Linked DNA regions of Homo sapiens: regions 1, 2, 4 and 5 are each linked to region 3. Evidence: promoter capture Hi-C in 16 types of primary human blood cells and fetal thymus (Javierre and others, 2016). All regions are on one chromosome and are shown on one strand. Each heading gives the region's core, a stretch centred on a gene start or on the middle of the fragment in contact. The rest is flanking DNA. Distances are from core to core; before and after follow the strand shown.

The links. Contacts are between HindIII fragments. The CHiCAGO score rates a contact against its expected background, and 5 or more counts as called.
Region 1: a fragment that was not itself captured here is called in contact with the fragment with the promoter of CT62 in region 3 in 7 of 17 cell types (M0 macrophages, naive CD4 T cells, M1 macrophages and 4 more); the score reaches 6.7 in M0 macrophages.
Region 2: a fragment that was not itself captured here is called in contact with the fragment with the promoter of CT62 in region 3 in 1 of 17 cell types (endothelial precursors); the score reaches 8.5 in endothelial precursors.
Region 4: a fragment that was not itself captured here is called in contact with the fragment with the promoter of CT62 in region 3 in 1 of 17 cell types (endothelial precursors); the score reaches 17.0 in endothelial precursors.
Region 5: a contact is called between a fragment that was not itself captured here and the fragment with the promoter of CT62 in region 3, in 1 of 17 cell types (naive CD4 T cells). The highest score is 5.4, in naive CD4 T cells.

Annotation. Positions count from the first base shown.
Region 1 is chr15:71,459,468-71,462,167 of GRCh38, forward strand. All of the region lies in intron 7 of THSD4 (thrombospondin type 1 domain containing 4), which reads left to right. Among named protein-coding and RNA genes, the nearest start is that of THSD4-AS2, 230 kb to the right of the region's middle. The HindIII fragment of the contact is 2,108 bases long and covers 390-2,497 here.
Region 2 is chr15:71,394,223-71,396,922 of GRCh38, forward strand. All of the region lies in intron 6 of THSD4 (thrombospondin type 1 domain containing 4), which reads left to right. Among named protein-coding and RNA genes, the nearest start is that of THSD4-AS1, 210 kb to the left of the region's middle. The HindIII fragment of the contact is 5,021 bases long and covers 1-2,700 here.
Region 3 is chr15:71,114,246-71,116,945 of GRCh38, forward strand. CT62 (cancer/testis associated 62) reads right to left here and starts at 1,259. Exons shown (of 4, transcript NR_168260.1): 1 at 679-1,259. It overlaps THSD4 (thrombospondin type 1 domain containing 4), which reads left to right and starts at 1,226. Exons shown (of 18, transcript NM_024817.3): 1 at 1,226-1,453. RefSeq lists silencers at 1,040-1,089, 1,126-1,303, 1,150-1,209, 1,240-1,379, 1,530-1,619. The HindIII fragment of the contact is 2,227 bases long and covers 150-2,376 here.
Region 4 is chr15:71,374,719-71,377,418 of GRCh38, forward strand. All of the region lies in intron 6 of THSD4 (thrombospondin type 1 domain containing 4), which reads left to right. Among named protein-coding and RNA genes, the nearest start is that of THSD4-AS1, 190 kb to the left of the region's middle. The HindIII fragment of the contact is 5,067 bases long and covers 1-2,700 here.
Region 5 is chr15:71,485,535-71,488,234 of GRCh38, forward strand. The region is part of intron 7 of THSD4 (thrombospondin type 1 domain containing 4); the gene reads left to right. The region is part of intron 2 of LOC107984716 (a long non-coding RNA gene); the gene reads right to left. Among named protein-coding and RNA genes, the nearest start is that of THSD4-AS2, 200 kb to the right of the region's middle. The HindIII fragment of the contact is 229 bases long and covers 1,154-1,382 here.

The sequences.
Region 1 (2,700 bases), core at 194-2,693, 350 kb after region 3:
ACTGTCTCTGGCATGGGTTTTGCTCACCTTGCTTAGTTTAAGGTAGAATGAAATATTTCTTCTGCAAGTTTTCTTCAAATAGTTGTATCTCTTGCATAAAGTAGAATATTTGAAGCAGGTCTTGGTATTTTTCAGGCTACTTTTTAATTTGAAAAATACAAAAAGAAACACATACATTCCCAAAGTAAAAATGACCCAGAACCCTCATATTAAAATATATACAAACTTAGGAATGAATATATATAAACTAAAAAGTTACATATAATAACTAACCTTACTTAAGAATAACATTTTTATTTTGTAAAGGATTGGCTCATTGTGTGCTGCTTTGAACTAGAGAGTAGAGAGTGGGTTAATACGTTCTAGGGAGATGAGGTATTAGGCAGATAAGCTTTATACATTTAATTTTTTGGATTGTGTTCTCTCTTAAAGACTATATATTCAGTCTCACACAGCCCGGATCTACTTCTCTTATGCCACACTCAACCATACCTTTTGCAGCCCCAAAGTTACCAGCGGTCTCTACCTCTGGGCCTGTCTCTGATTTTCTACTTCTGGCCACACTAATGTCTATCCTATAATAGGTGTCAAGACCCCTTTTTCATGTTTCTCTGGAGCTGTCCCCTTTTTATCCACTTGATTTCTGTGGCCCACGATACCAGTGGTAATTCTTTTTCTTGAGCACATTCTGAAAAGATTCCCTAAGGGAATGGCTAAGAGGTTGAAAGCTAGGTCAATGTTCTGAGCCGACTCACTAATAGAAGAAATTAATCACTTACCAGCATTCATAAAAATATAGGTAGATAAGCAAGGTGGAGAAGAAATACAAGTTGCCTGGTTTTTTTTTTTTTTTTTTTTTTGAAAGCATGCCATTGGTCCCAGATAACCCCAGGAGTAGATTGAATGGTATATTAAAAGGCACTTAAGTATCATGCCTGTCCTCCCCAAATTAATGGATCAGTGTACATTCCACCTTGAATTTATTATGCCTTTGCCTGCCAGTAGGGCTGGATGGCATGTGGACATATTTGCACATTCTAGCTTGGTTTATGTTACCTCCAGTCCTGAACTCACATCAGAAGCTGACGGTAATGCCCTTGACTCTGTGGGAGCTGATTTATCCTGGGCCATTTAAAGTCAACAGATACTTTTAGAATCTGGGTTTTGGCCTTTCTCTCGACGGGCTGGTAGCTGTCTCTTCAGTGAAAATAGTAAAAGACTGCCTTGGGACAATTATGAACATTACCTGTTTGCGTACAAGATAGCTACGTTTCGTATTTAATGCCAAGGTCACTTTACCTTGCTGGTGTCTGGCATTGCCTAATCATTCATTGCAGTCCTGGAAAGACAAAACTTGTATCTTCTGTATGGTTTCCTGTGTCCCCGGTTTATACATATTGGTTCTTCTTGTTGGCCCCCTACTATTTAAGCACTACAGAGAAAAACTGAGTTTTACTCATGGTAGCTCTATGTTAACCCCCCCATATTCATTAACTATTGCTGCATAACAAATTATTCCCAAAGGTAGCAATAACATTTATCATATTTATTATCAAATAATAAACATTTATCACCCCACAAAGTTTCTGTGACTCTAGAATTCAGGAGCAGCTTAACTGGGTGGTTCTGGCTTAGGGCCTCCCATGAGGTTGTTGTCAAGATGTTAGTTGGGTCTGCAGTCATCTGAAGGCTTAACTGGGGCTGGAAGATTTGTTTGCAAGATGTCTCACTCATGTGCCTAGTTAATTGGTACTGACTGTTGGTAGGAGGCCTCAGATCCCTGCCACATGCACCTCTATAGAGCTGTTCGAGTGTCTTCACAATATGGCACTGACTTCCCCAGGTGATCTAAGAAAGTGCGAGGTAGAAGCCCCAATATATTTTATGACCTAGTCCCAGAAGTCATACCCTGTCATCTCTGCAATCTTATTGGTTACAAGGTCAGTGTTATTCAGTGTGTGAGGGACTTATAGAAGGGCATGAACACCAGTTGCCATCTCAGAGCTGGGTCAGCACACCCTCGATGGCCCTTCAGCACTTTCAGTCTCCTCTAGTAGAAAATTTCCATAGTGTTATTTCAAATAAAGAAGCAAATAGATCCTGTTGGGATTTATAGGGTCCATTAGTATTAAATATGGCTACCAAACAGTGTCAAAATATATGTAGTCCTTTAAAAGCATTATTCCTTTCCAAACGTACTTAATATGATTTTTGTTAAGAAACAAAAATACAGTCCAGAAAAGTCAATATTAGAGTCCACTTTTGATCATAATTTCCAAGTAGGATTTTCTTCCACTATGATGAAGACATATGGGCACTGTCAGGTTTTTTTTTTTTTTTCTTCTCTAGTGTCTGCATTGAGAAAAGTTAAACAAATAGATCAAAACTGAACCTCTTTTTACAAAGTTACCATTCATTTGTTGCCATCCTGGAGTGCAGGCCAGGTTCTTTTGTTAGCTGCTGCTTTGAAATATGTGGCCAAGATTGGCTGGCATGAAGCTTTGTATGTTGGCGAGCCAACTCCCATGAGTTGGAAGCTCCTTCAGAGCTGAAGAAACAAGACCAGAAGCATCTTAGAATCATCTCTCTTATAACCTTACAGTTGGAAGAAATCTAACAGGTCTTCCAGGCCTAACTTTCTTTTTTCTTTTTCATATTGTCTTTTAAAAAATATAACTCTTCACTAAACTTAGTTCTGAT
Region 2 (2,700 bases), core at 165-2,664, 280 kb after region 3:
CCCCTCTGGGCTGTCATACACTCTGTTGTCCAAACACATTTGTCTTTTTTTTTTTTTTTTTTTTTTTTGAGACGGAGTTTTACTGTGTTTCCCAGGCTGGAGTGCAGTCGTGCAATCTTGGCTCACTGCCACCTCCACCTCCTGGGTTCAAGCGATTCTCCTGCCTCAGCCTCCTGAGTAGCTGGGACTACAGGCAAGTGCCACCACGGCCGGCTAATTTTTGTATTTTTAGTAGAGACGGTGTTTCACCATGTTAGCCGGGATGGTCTAGATCTCTTGACTTGGTGATCCACCCGCCTCAGCCTCCCAAAGTGCTGGGATTACAGGCGTGAGCCACAGTGCCTGATTGGCCTTTTCACTCCTCCTCCTCCTGCCGCAGAGCATGTGCATAGGCTGGTGCTACTGCTTGGGATGTCTTCCTCCCTACTCCTCCTTCACAGAGCTAACTCCTACTCATCCTTCAGATTTCAGTTCAGTTCAGAAGTCACTTCCTCAGTAAAACCTTTCCTGATACCCTGGACTAAGTCGTTTCTCTATTGTATATGCCCTGGGAGACTTTGCCATCACAGCACTTGCTACAATTTGGCGTTTATACAGTTGCTTGCATTTTTGTGTATTTAATAAAATTAATGTGAGTCCCTCTGACATCTCCACCCGCTTCTACTCAGCACTAGACAGATATTTCTGAACAGATGTCAGTATGAAAGGCTTCCCAGGAGTCGTAGGTCTGGAGCTCAATGCTGAAGGTGGGTTTGTGAAGGCAGATTGGAGAACCAAGGATAGTCTGGACAGGTGAATAGAAGAAACAGAGCCACTGAGGTGGGAATGCCTTTGCTGTGTTTCTGTAACAATGAGGAGAACCATTGAGTAGTTACAGGCCCAGTTGAAGAGGGCGGTGTCCTTGAAACCTGCCTTAGGAGTCGGATGCGGATATTCTGAGGATGGTGAAGGACCGGATGGCTGTGAGGAGAGGAGTAACATGATGAAACATGTTGAAAGTCACTTGTTAGTGGGTTTTATTAAACCCCAAAACGGGGAGCTCAGTAGCCAAGAGCCCTCTGGGAGGCTGCTAAGGGACATGCCGTGAAGGTGACAGAGGACATCCAGTCTAAAAGTCCCCACTGAGCTCCACTGCCCCCCAGGTGCAAAGCCTGTGCTAAGCATGGCAGCTCACAAGGACTGGGCAGAGGCACAGACAATTCTCACTCATTGGTTTCTGCAGTCAAAAGTTGAGACTGGCCGGGTGCTGTGGCTCACACCTGTAATCTCAGCACTTTGGGAGGCCAAGGTGGGCAGATCGCTTGAACTCAGGAGTTCGAGACCAGCCTGGGCAACATAGTGATACCCCACCTCTACAAAAAATACAAAATTAGCTGGGCATGATGGTGCATGCCTATAATCCCAGCTACTCAGGAGGCTGAGGCAGGAGAATCGCTTGAACCCGGGAGGCAGAGGCTGCCAGTGAACTGAGATCACGCCACTGCACTTCAGCTTGGGCCACAGAACAAGCCCCTGTCCCCCGACTCCCAAAAAAAAGATGGTGCGAGCTGGGGTTCCTTGGAGTTTTCCCCTGAATTCCTGGATGATGTCATACCAGAACATTCTTTTGCTGAAGCCATCAAAACTCTCTTCCTGCTACAACCTTCCTTTTCCAGTGTCTCCCAAGTCTGCTTCTCAGTGTTTTGAAGAGAGACACACACACACACACACACACACACACACACACACACAAACACAGACTTTGTTGAGCACATGGCCTGTTGTTCAGGCGTCGGGATTCGCTGAGTGGACCCACGCATTCAAGTGCCAGCCTTTTCCACCTGATGAACCCGTGTGCTTTTATCGCTGTTGAGTGCTTTGGCCGTGTACCAATAGACTCTGAATGAAACGTGTGGATGTGCACACACATATCTACATATACATGTATACATACATGTAGACACATGTATATACATACACACATATGCCCTATAAATACATACTCTGATACACCCACATATCTATACCATATGTACACATGCATACATAATATACACATATGCATGTACACACATAAAACATGTACATGCGTACATATGCACACACACACACACATACCTATACGTATACATACCTATTTTACTGAGATGGTAATAGCAGGGGATAGGAAGTCAAGCCGTCCTCCCCTGGGTATTGCCTGCAGAGGTGCTACCACTTCCTCTGCCTCTGACTTTCTCTGGTTTCCAAGACCTTTACTTTATGTGGCAGTTTGTACCAGAATTCCCTTCCCTGACTTCCTTCTCAAAGCTCTCAACAGCCTCAGTTCCTGACGGGAGAAACCCCAGCCACATCATCTTGCTGGAGGATACGTATCTATTCTGTGTTTTAACACATATATCCGCTCAGATAGTTAGACATTTTCCAAAGCTGTAAAACACCGGCCATGACCTCCCGCTTCTGCTGAAGCTGTCAAGCCGCTTTCTTGACAGTTGGCCAGACTGGCTTACTACTGGCAGAACCCCTTTCCAACTTACTTTTTATTAAATATAACATTTTAAGATGTAACACAACATGTCACACAGCATGAAGAGTTTTGAACGGCATGGTGCCTTTTCATAATGGCATTTGTTTTCAGTCGTTTTTTCCTGCTTTGGATTTAATGTGACATGAGAGAAATAGGAAACATTTCAGAAAAAGGTTGGGTAACTTGGACAAGGTTCA
Region 3 (2,700 bases), core at 9-2,508:
ATCTTCCCTGGGAGCTCCCTTCTGCTCCCACGAAGCGCTCTGCACCCAGCCCTGGTGCTGCCTGGCTCTGGGGCAGGGAGCTTGCATTCTGCCACCTCCTTCATTGTCCTCTCGGTATACCTGCACTTTCAAAACAACCCCTGCAGGCAAGCTTTAGAGGCAGCGATAAACAAACAGGCTGACTGAAATTTAGGGAAACGCCTGTATCTGGACAGCCTCTTCAAATATTTGTCACCCCCTCCCTGCTCTGGGGAAAGAAGAGACAGTTCCTCACAGTCACTCTATTTCCTGCCTTCCCAGCTCTGAACACCTTGGCTCGAATGTAAAGAATTTGGCTCTGAATTAGGACTCAAGAAACGGGGCCCTAGCAATTTTCCCTCCATTAACTAAACGCGTCACTTTGGTCATGCCCTTTTGGGGGCAATAATTTCCCAATTCGTAAAATGAAGGGATCAAAGTTTGATTTTTATCATTACTAATGAGAAGAATTATTATTTTTTTGCAGCAGGCTTTTTTTTCCCCAACAAAATATTACTCTGAATAAGACAAGAAAGAATCCCGAACGGCTCTGGCCGTCAGGGTGTGTGTGTCTCCTCCCCATGCTGTCTAACCCCCGTTGGAATTTGGAGGGCTCTTGTCCTTTCCCCTTGGCCTCAGAAGGAGCCCAGCGCGTCCTACCTTGCGTGGGAGTGTGTGTGTGACCAGGGCTCCTTCCTGCCCTTAGAGTCACCGCCCCCTTCTCGCACAGGTTTACAGCACCACTTGCCTCGCCCACTCCCCGCTTTGCCTCCGCCCCATCCTGATGCTGCCGGAATGGCTGTTCCAAATGGAAGGATGCCCGCGTCCGTCCCCTGCCCCAGTCCTTCAACAGGTCCCCACAGACCTCAGGATAAGATGAACGCGGAATTCAGGGCCTGGTCTCAACCGCCCTCTCCCTTTTCCTCTCACTTAGACGACCCTGGCCAGCTGGGCCACTCTCCACTCTCGCCCCCTCCCGCCCTCGTGGCCTCTGTCTAGACCGTACTCCCTCCTACTGGGTGATGTCTCTTCCCCTGGGACCCAGGGACCATCCCGTTGTTGACCTCCGGGGTCAGGGGTGCGGATGGGGGCCGGCCCTTCCCGCGGTCGCCGCCAGGGGGCGGCAGGAGCGGCTCCAGATGACAGCGGGAGGCCGCAAGAGGGGAGGGAGGAAGGACCGAGGGAGCGCGGATCCCGCTCTCGGATCGCAAACTCTGAGCCAGAGCTCTCCGCGCGCGCCTGAACCGCTGGCCGCCCGCGCAGCCCGACGCGGAATCGGGGCACAGCGGGAGCCCGTGCAGGGCGGGCGCGGGGCGGCTGGGCGGCGGTGGCGGCCGTCCATGCGGCGGCGCTCGGGGCTGCCCGGCGCCGGGAACCACGCGGGGGCGAGGCGAGGCGAGGCGGCCGCCGGTCGCTCCGGGACGCGGACCGCCAGGTGAGCAGAGCCGCGCGCCCCGCGTCCCCTGCGCGCCGCCCGCGCGGCCCCGACCCGGCTTCCGCTGCCCAGGCTCCGGCTCCCGCTCTCTGGCCGGCGGGGCGGGCTGGCGCGGGCTACCCAGTGGGTGTGTCCGGGGCGCCGCGGGCTGCGCCGCTCCGGGCTCGGGGAGCCAGCGCGCGCCTGGTCCGTGCGGACGGCTGCGCCTCCTTCTCTGGTTCTCTTCCTTGCTGGGAGTCTTGCTCTGTGCTGGCGCCGGCGCTCATCCCTCCACCCTCGACTCTAGGGACAGTCTTAAACTCTAGGGACAATCCACCTCAGTCGTCCCCGGGTCGGGGCCCCGTGCTCCCCGGGTCGGGTCGGAGGGGACCGGCGAGTGCACACCCAGCCCGTGCGCCCCCCACCTCAGCCTCGCCTCCCTCCCGCCTGGGGCCCGAGAGCCGGGCAAGTCTCGGTCAGCGCTCCTTGAGTCCTGGCCTGGGGCCTCGGATCTGTGTGTCTGTCTGTCTCAGTTTAGTTGCTGCAACCCAGCGAGCGCCTGGAGCCCGAGTGGATGGGTTGTTTCCGCCAACTCTGGACACTTCCTCAAGTGCAGCCTAAGTACCTGCGGCCCCTTGGCGCACTTACAGAAGTAGCTTTTGCACAGCGAGCTCACCTTGGAGCTCTACAGATCTGGAAGTTAAGTTTTCTTTTTATTTGAAATAACATCAGCCCTCACTTGGGAAGGGGATTTTAGGGCGTTCTCGGGCCCACCTAAGTATCTGGAATTTGTGGTCTAGTAAGTTTTTTAAGCAGTCCGCACCCAGCACCGTACCTCCCAGCCTCCTTTGCCGTCTTACTAAAAGTGCATGCTTGCTTCTCTTCCTGTCTCCTTTGCGATCTCTACCACGCTGCGCTTCGCCCTTTTCGGGCTATGAGTCTAAAGCTTGGACGTGGGTAGCAATCATTGGATGCCTGTTGGAATTTGGAATTAGAGAAATAGATACCCGAGAGAGATCTAAGGAATCGCCTTGTCCAACCCTCCTTTCACAGTTGGAGGCACCCAGGACCCCTGACAGTCTGAAGATTTTTCAAGGATCACACAGCTTTTAAAATCCGCGTGTCTTCTACTTGATTAATATTGTTGGAGGTGATGGAGTAACTGGGCTTACTAGGGTCTTACTGGGTCTCAATATACAAAGAAGCAAACATTTTAAAAATGTGACTTAAAATACGGAACTCTTCAATTCCTATAGATTTTTGTTGGC
Region 4 (2,700 bases), core at 160-2,659, 260 kb after region 3:
AATCACTTGAAATTAAGGCAGCAAAGGAAAACGCCCAATCTCTGTTTATAAATGTGCAAAACAATTTGCTAGACAAGGCTATTACTCAAGCAAGAGACTATTCACAGATGGTGGCTTGGGCTGGGTAGACACAAAGGCTAGGACAGCAGACCATTAATCACCATGCACAGACGTGCTGCTTGGTAAAAGTGAGCCTCCCAGACTAAGAAAGGGTGTACTGTAGGGGCTTAATGTGGAATCACCTGTCCTGCGGGTATTTAGAGAAATCCTCACAGCCACAGAAATCCCCAGAAGCCCACAGAAGGGATTTCAGACAAATCCACATCTCCTCACACTCCCTTTTCCCCATTTCCCCCACTTCCTAAATGTAGAACAATTCCAGGATGTTGCAAATGTATGCATTCACTTAATAAAAACTGCATGTCTGCCAGGGACCGAGCACCACGAGGATTGTGTACACTAAAGATGATCTTTTCATCCAAGTATGTTACAGTTTACATGGAGAGATGAGGCAGAGTATGTGCATGTGGACACATATGTGTGCGAAAGGGAAATAGCCCAAGACAGTGATGTTTTCTCCCTCTTCCTGACAACTTCTCTCCATCTTCATCTCAACCTCATTGGTGCTTTCCTCTGAGCAGCCTTTTCTGACCTTCCAAGACCGAGTTGGATGCTCTGGTTCTGTGTTCTCATCGCTGCCTATGCTTCTCCCCTCCCATCACTTTCACACTGAATTGTAATTGCCTGTTCAGTTGTTTGGGTCACTCTTCCCCAGCCCCCTACTGTGTCTTTTTTGGGAGCAGGGACTTTGCCTGTCTGTGTTACTCCTGGCACAATACATGTTTGTTGACAGATTCCACAAGCAGTATTGATGATGTCCTCTGTGAGTGGAGTTGGAAGGGGTCATTTGAAGCCCAGGAGAAGGGGTTCCAGCCAGCCTTGAAAGATAAGTTAAGAACAAGAGGAGAGAGGATGTGGTTTTATCTAGTGCAGTGGTTCTCAAAGTGCGGTCCCTGGACCAAAAGCATCAGCATCACCTGGGAACTTGTTAGGAATGCAAATTCGGGCCTCACTCCCAAATTTGCTTTCACATTCCATTGCATTCCACACCTACTAAATCAGAGGCTCTGGAGGAGGACCCTGGCAATCTGGGTTTTAATAAACCCTCCAGGTGATTATGGTGAACTTCAAAGTTTGAGAACAACTGACCTAGCACTTTTCTACTATGACTCTGTATTATTTATCACTGAGACCAATGTACTGTCACATACCGACTAGGCCCTACCTGCGACTTTGTGATTATGCATAACAAATAGAGTTTGTCTCCTGCTACTTGCAGTTGATTAATGGCGAGAGTTCTTATGCAAGAGATTCTGAGACCATGACTGTGCCCAAGGTGAAAGAGTGCCAGAATTGATTAGTAATGTCTGTCATGGGTGCAGGAGGAGGAGTACTCACATCCTTTGCTCACACCTCTTGCATGTGCTGTCTCTGACTGGAGCCAATCCTGAATGTATGTAGGACAAGATGAAGGCAGTGCTCAGGTCTGAGGGCCTGGCTGCAGGCTCTCTTCTGATCTTCATGCTCTGAATTTTTAGGACCCAGCCTCCTTCCTTATGCCCTAGTTTAGATGTCCTGTTTCTTGACACTGTTCTTACCATGATTGAGTCTCCCACACCAGTCCCATACTCACCTCCTTCATACCACCACTCTTCTGGGTCTTGATTGATAGTTTGCCCTGTCACTGTTTGGCCAGACCACCAACCCTTGTTCTGACTTGCAACCTTTTTCTGGCCATTCTGTGGTTGGGTCAGATCATTTGGATCTCCCCTGGGACACACATAATTCTGATCTGCCCTGAGAAAAACAAATCTTTCCCCCTTGCTCCCATTTGCAAACTCTTTGCCCAAACCAGGCCAACTTATGTTCACAGACTCCTAGTCTCTGCTGTCTCCTCAACCTGTGCTAGTTATCCAAGAAAGGGATCCCAGGTGATGGGACCAGTATAAGCAAAGGCATGAGGTCAGAATATGAAAAATATGATTAGGTCTGTAAGTAGATCAGTCTGGCTGGGTTAAGAACTCATGCCGAGACATATTGGATTGAAACATCAGCAAACAATTGGTAAGATCAGATTTTGAGGGTCTCAATCCCCCAGCTCTGGAGCTTAAACTTCATGCCCTAGGAGGGAGCTACCAAAGGCTCTGGGTTGGGGAAGGTGGTGACACCTTAAGGAGATGCTGTACGAATACTCACCTAGCAGGTGTGTGCAGGGTGATGTGCAGGGAGGGACCAAAAGGAGGTGGCCACAGTTATCTGGGCCTGATGTGGCACTGATTGTGGGAAGAGGAAAGAAATGGACGTGAGAAAGGAATTCTGGAGACACTCCCAGGAGGGAATCAATGTGGCAGGATGGCTGATTTCATGAAGGGGGTAAAGGACAGAGAAGAGTCAAGGTGACTGGAATAACATCAAACCTGACACAAAGAGGGATGCCCAGTGGGGAAGAACAGATGTGAGAGGAAGTTGAGGACTTGAAATTAACACTAAATGAGTTTGAGGTGAAAGCAGGGAATCCTGGTGGGAATGCTGAGCAGGTGAATGGAAATCCAGGACCACAGGCAGTATGTGGGCTAGGATCAACAGGAATGTGGGTGTTCCCCATCCTAGGAGACAGCAGGAAAGGGGAGAGGGGAGGAA
Region 5 (2,700 bases), core at 18-2,517, 370 kb after region 3:
ACCATTGCCTCCAGAGCATTTGATGTTACCAGCCTTGCTGGGCAGAAGGAGGCCTAAGGAAAATGGAAATTGGAGACAGAAGTGCCTGGAGATTCTAGACTCTTTCTCTTGCCCTCTACAGACCACTTGTCCAGGGCCCACAGCTCTTAAGAAAAAAAAAAAGAGAGAGAATAAAACTGTTTCCTACATTATTTAACAGTACCTCTCATTGAATGACAAATATTTACTGGTAAATATTTTAGTGTTATTCCTATAAAATTAGTGGCCGTGTATATCAACAGTGCATAGCTTTCTTTTTGTGGTCATACTTAGTTATTACTACAGCCCAGTGACAAGTTTGTTTTTCAAGCTGTGGAAATAATTAGAACGTCAAATACCACTTCATGATTAAAAACTTTCTAACCAGGAATAGCTCCCCCTTTGCAGTAATTACTTGTGGCAAATATCCTTTTTTAGAAAATAAATGCTGAACAAATTGAAGTCAGATCATTTTTTCCTCTCCTGCTAAAATAATTGCATGAGTAAGAGGTGATTTCAGTTTAGGGACATGTGGAGTTTTATATATTGCAGGATATAACATTCAGTCTTGAGCACCCTTACACACCCTCCCCTCTATCTCAAAATATCTCTTTCTCGGAGTCAGAGTTGAAGTGGTATCCATCTTCCTTCAAAATCAAACCTTCCTCGATCCTCTTCTGCCTCATTGGAGATATTAAGTCCTGAATTTTTTTCCTTAACAGCTGTAGTTTCTCCCCCTTTGCTAGTTTGGGATTCCACTTCCAGTTCCACTTGTGGGACCTTGGGAAAGTGAAATTTTCCGAGGCCCAGCTAAAAAGTGGGAATGATGATTTTACCCCACAGGGTACTTGTTATGTGAATTAAATGAGAAAGTTACATTTTAGGATACTCCCTGGTATATAATCAGCTATCCGTAAATGCCCATTCTCTCACTTACGTGTGGCATAAGTGGCATACATGGCTTACCATTTTGGTTATGCATGCAGTTATCGCTCACATCTTACTGAAACTTTCATTGGAACTAGTTGTCTACCTCCCTAATGCCAAGTTTCTTTTCTGTTTTTTTTTTTTTTTTTTTTTTTTTATTTCCCACTCCTCTGTCCACCTCTATATACATTTTAGAAATAGTTTTAAAAGCTTCCTTCAGATTGGCCCCTTATCTGCAGCTCCCGGGTGTGAATTTCTTTGTTGTGAATGCTGGCTCATGGTGAGGTAATTCTCCCACGCTTTGCAATTTTGGAGTGTGAGCTAGTGCAGCAGGGTCCTTTTCCTGGAGCTAACCCCCTGGCTCAAGAGGAGTACCTATGAGAATATTTTGAATTTGCCTTTTCGGGGTCCTGCAAAACCAGGATTTATGTTAACTAAGCTTTTGAAGACACCACCTATTGAGTATCTGCCCACCAGTTCAGAAAGCTTTTAGCTTTATTCTGAGAAAATCTCTCAGATGTAGCTCCCTTTCAGCCAGGGAAGTAGTTGACCACAGTCTCAGTTGTGAACTTTATTAAAACTGCATTAAAATCCTAGCCTTGCAGGGCTTATTGGGTTCTCACACCACTGTAAGACATTCAGCTGTATGCCAGTGCAACATGCTTCTGACCTTGCATTTCCTCGTCATTTCTGACACCTTGGGATTTCCCTTTCTTATTCTGAATTTAGCGATGTGGGATTTGTGTACATGTGTATTCTATCCAACTTATCTCTCTGTTTGGAGATGGAAGGTGGGATTTTTGCATCAGTTCCCACTGTTGTAAGCAGGCAAGAAATTGTGTTGTTTTCCTTAAGCACTGGAATGAATGGCTTTTGCTAACAGCTGCAGACTAGTTTTCAGCTCCATTACTCTGTGGAAACTGTTTTCTGGAAAGTCAACAGTGACCACTTCCTTGCTAAATCCAATTGCCTTTTCTAAGTCTCGGGATATATAAAAGATTTTATGAGCATCTTGATAGCTGTAACCTGCAAGAAACTGTCAACCAGTGTATAAGGGCCAAAGCAACATGGTATAGAAAAAAATCTTCTTTGACTTATGTTTGCAGTTCCCCTTATGGCCAGCTTAGAATCTTTCATGTAGATATTTGTCTAGCTCCAAAGTAAGATCATGTTAAATGGTATATAATTCAAGAATGTTGTTCAAATGTTTGTTGAGGACCTTCAGAAATATTTTTAAATTTTTCTAAGTGACTTTAACATTTTAAAAATTGACTTATATTTTATCTTTTTAAAATGCTATTGTAAATAGAATCTTTTCTTCCAATATATCTTGAATCTGGTTATTGTTTATAAATATGAAAGTTATTGGCTTCTCTATAATTTTATATACTTTATCTTCATAAATTCTTTTTTATTTCTGTGGTTTTAATTTTTTTCCTCTTTGGGTGTTTGATGTATGTAACCATATCACCTGCAAGTAATGATAATTTTATTCCTCCTCATCAAATTTTTTACACATACTTTCTTTTTTCTTATTCAGTTATGTAGGCTGCTGCTTCTAGCACAAAAGTAAGAGTGAAATCCTTGTCCTGCTCCTGAGTTTACTGAAGATGCTTCTTGTATTTCTCTCTTCAGCAGGATGCAAGCTCTTGGGCAGCGGTAGATTTATTGTTATCATATGAAGGGAACATTCTAATATATTTGAATATTTCTAACAAGAATAGATGTTGAATTATGCTTTTTCTTCTTAAACTT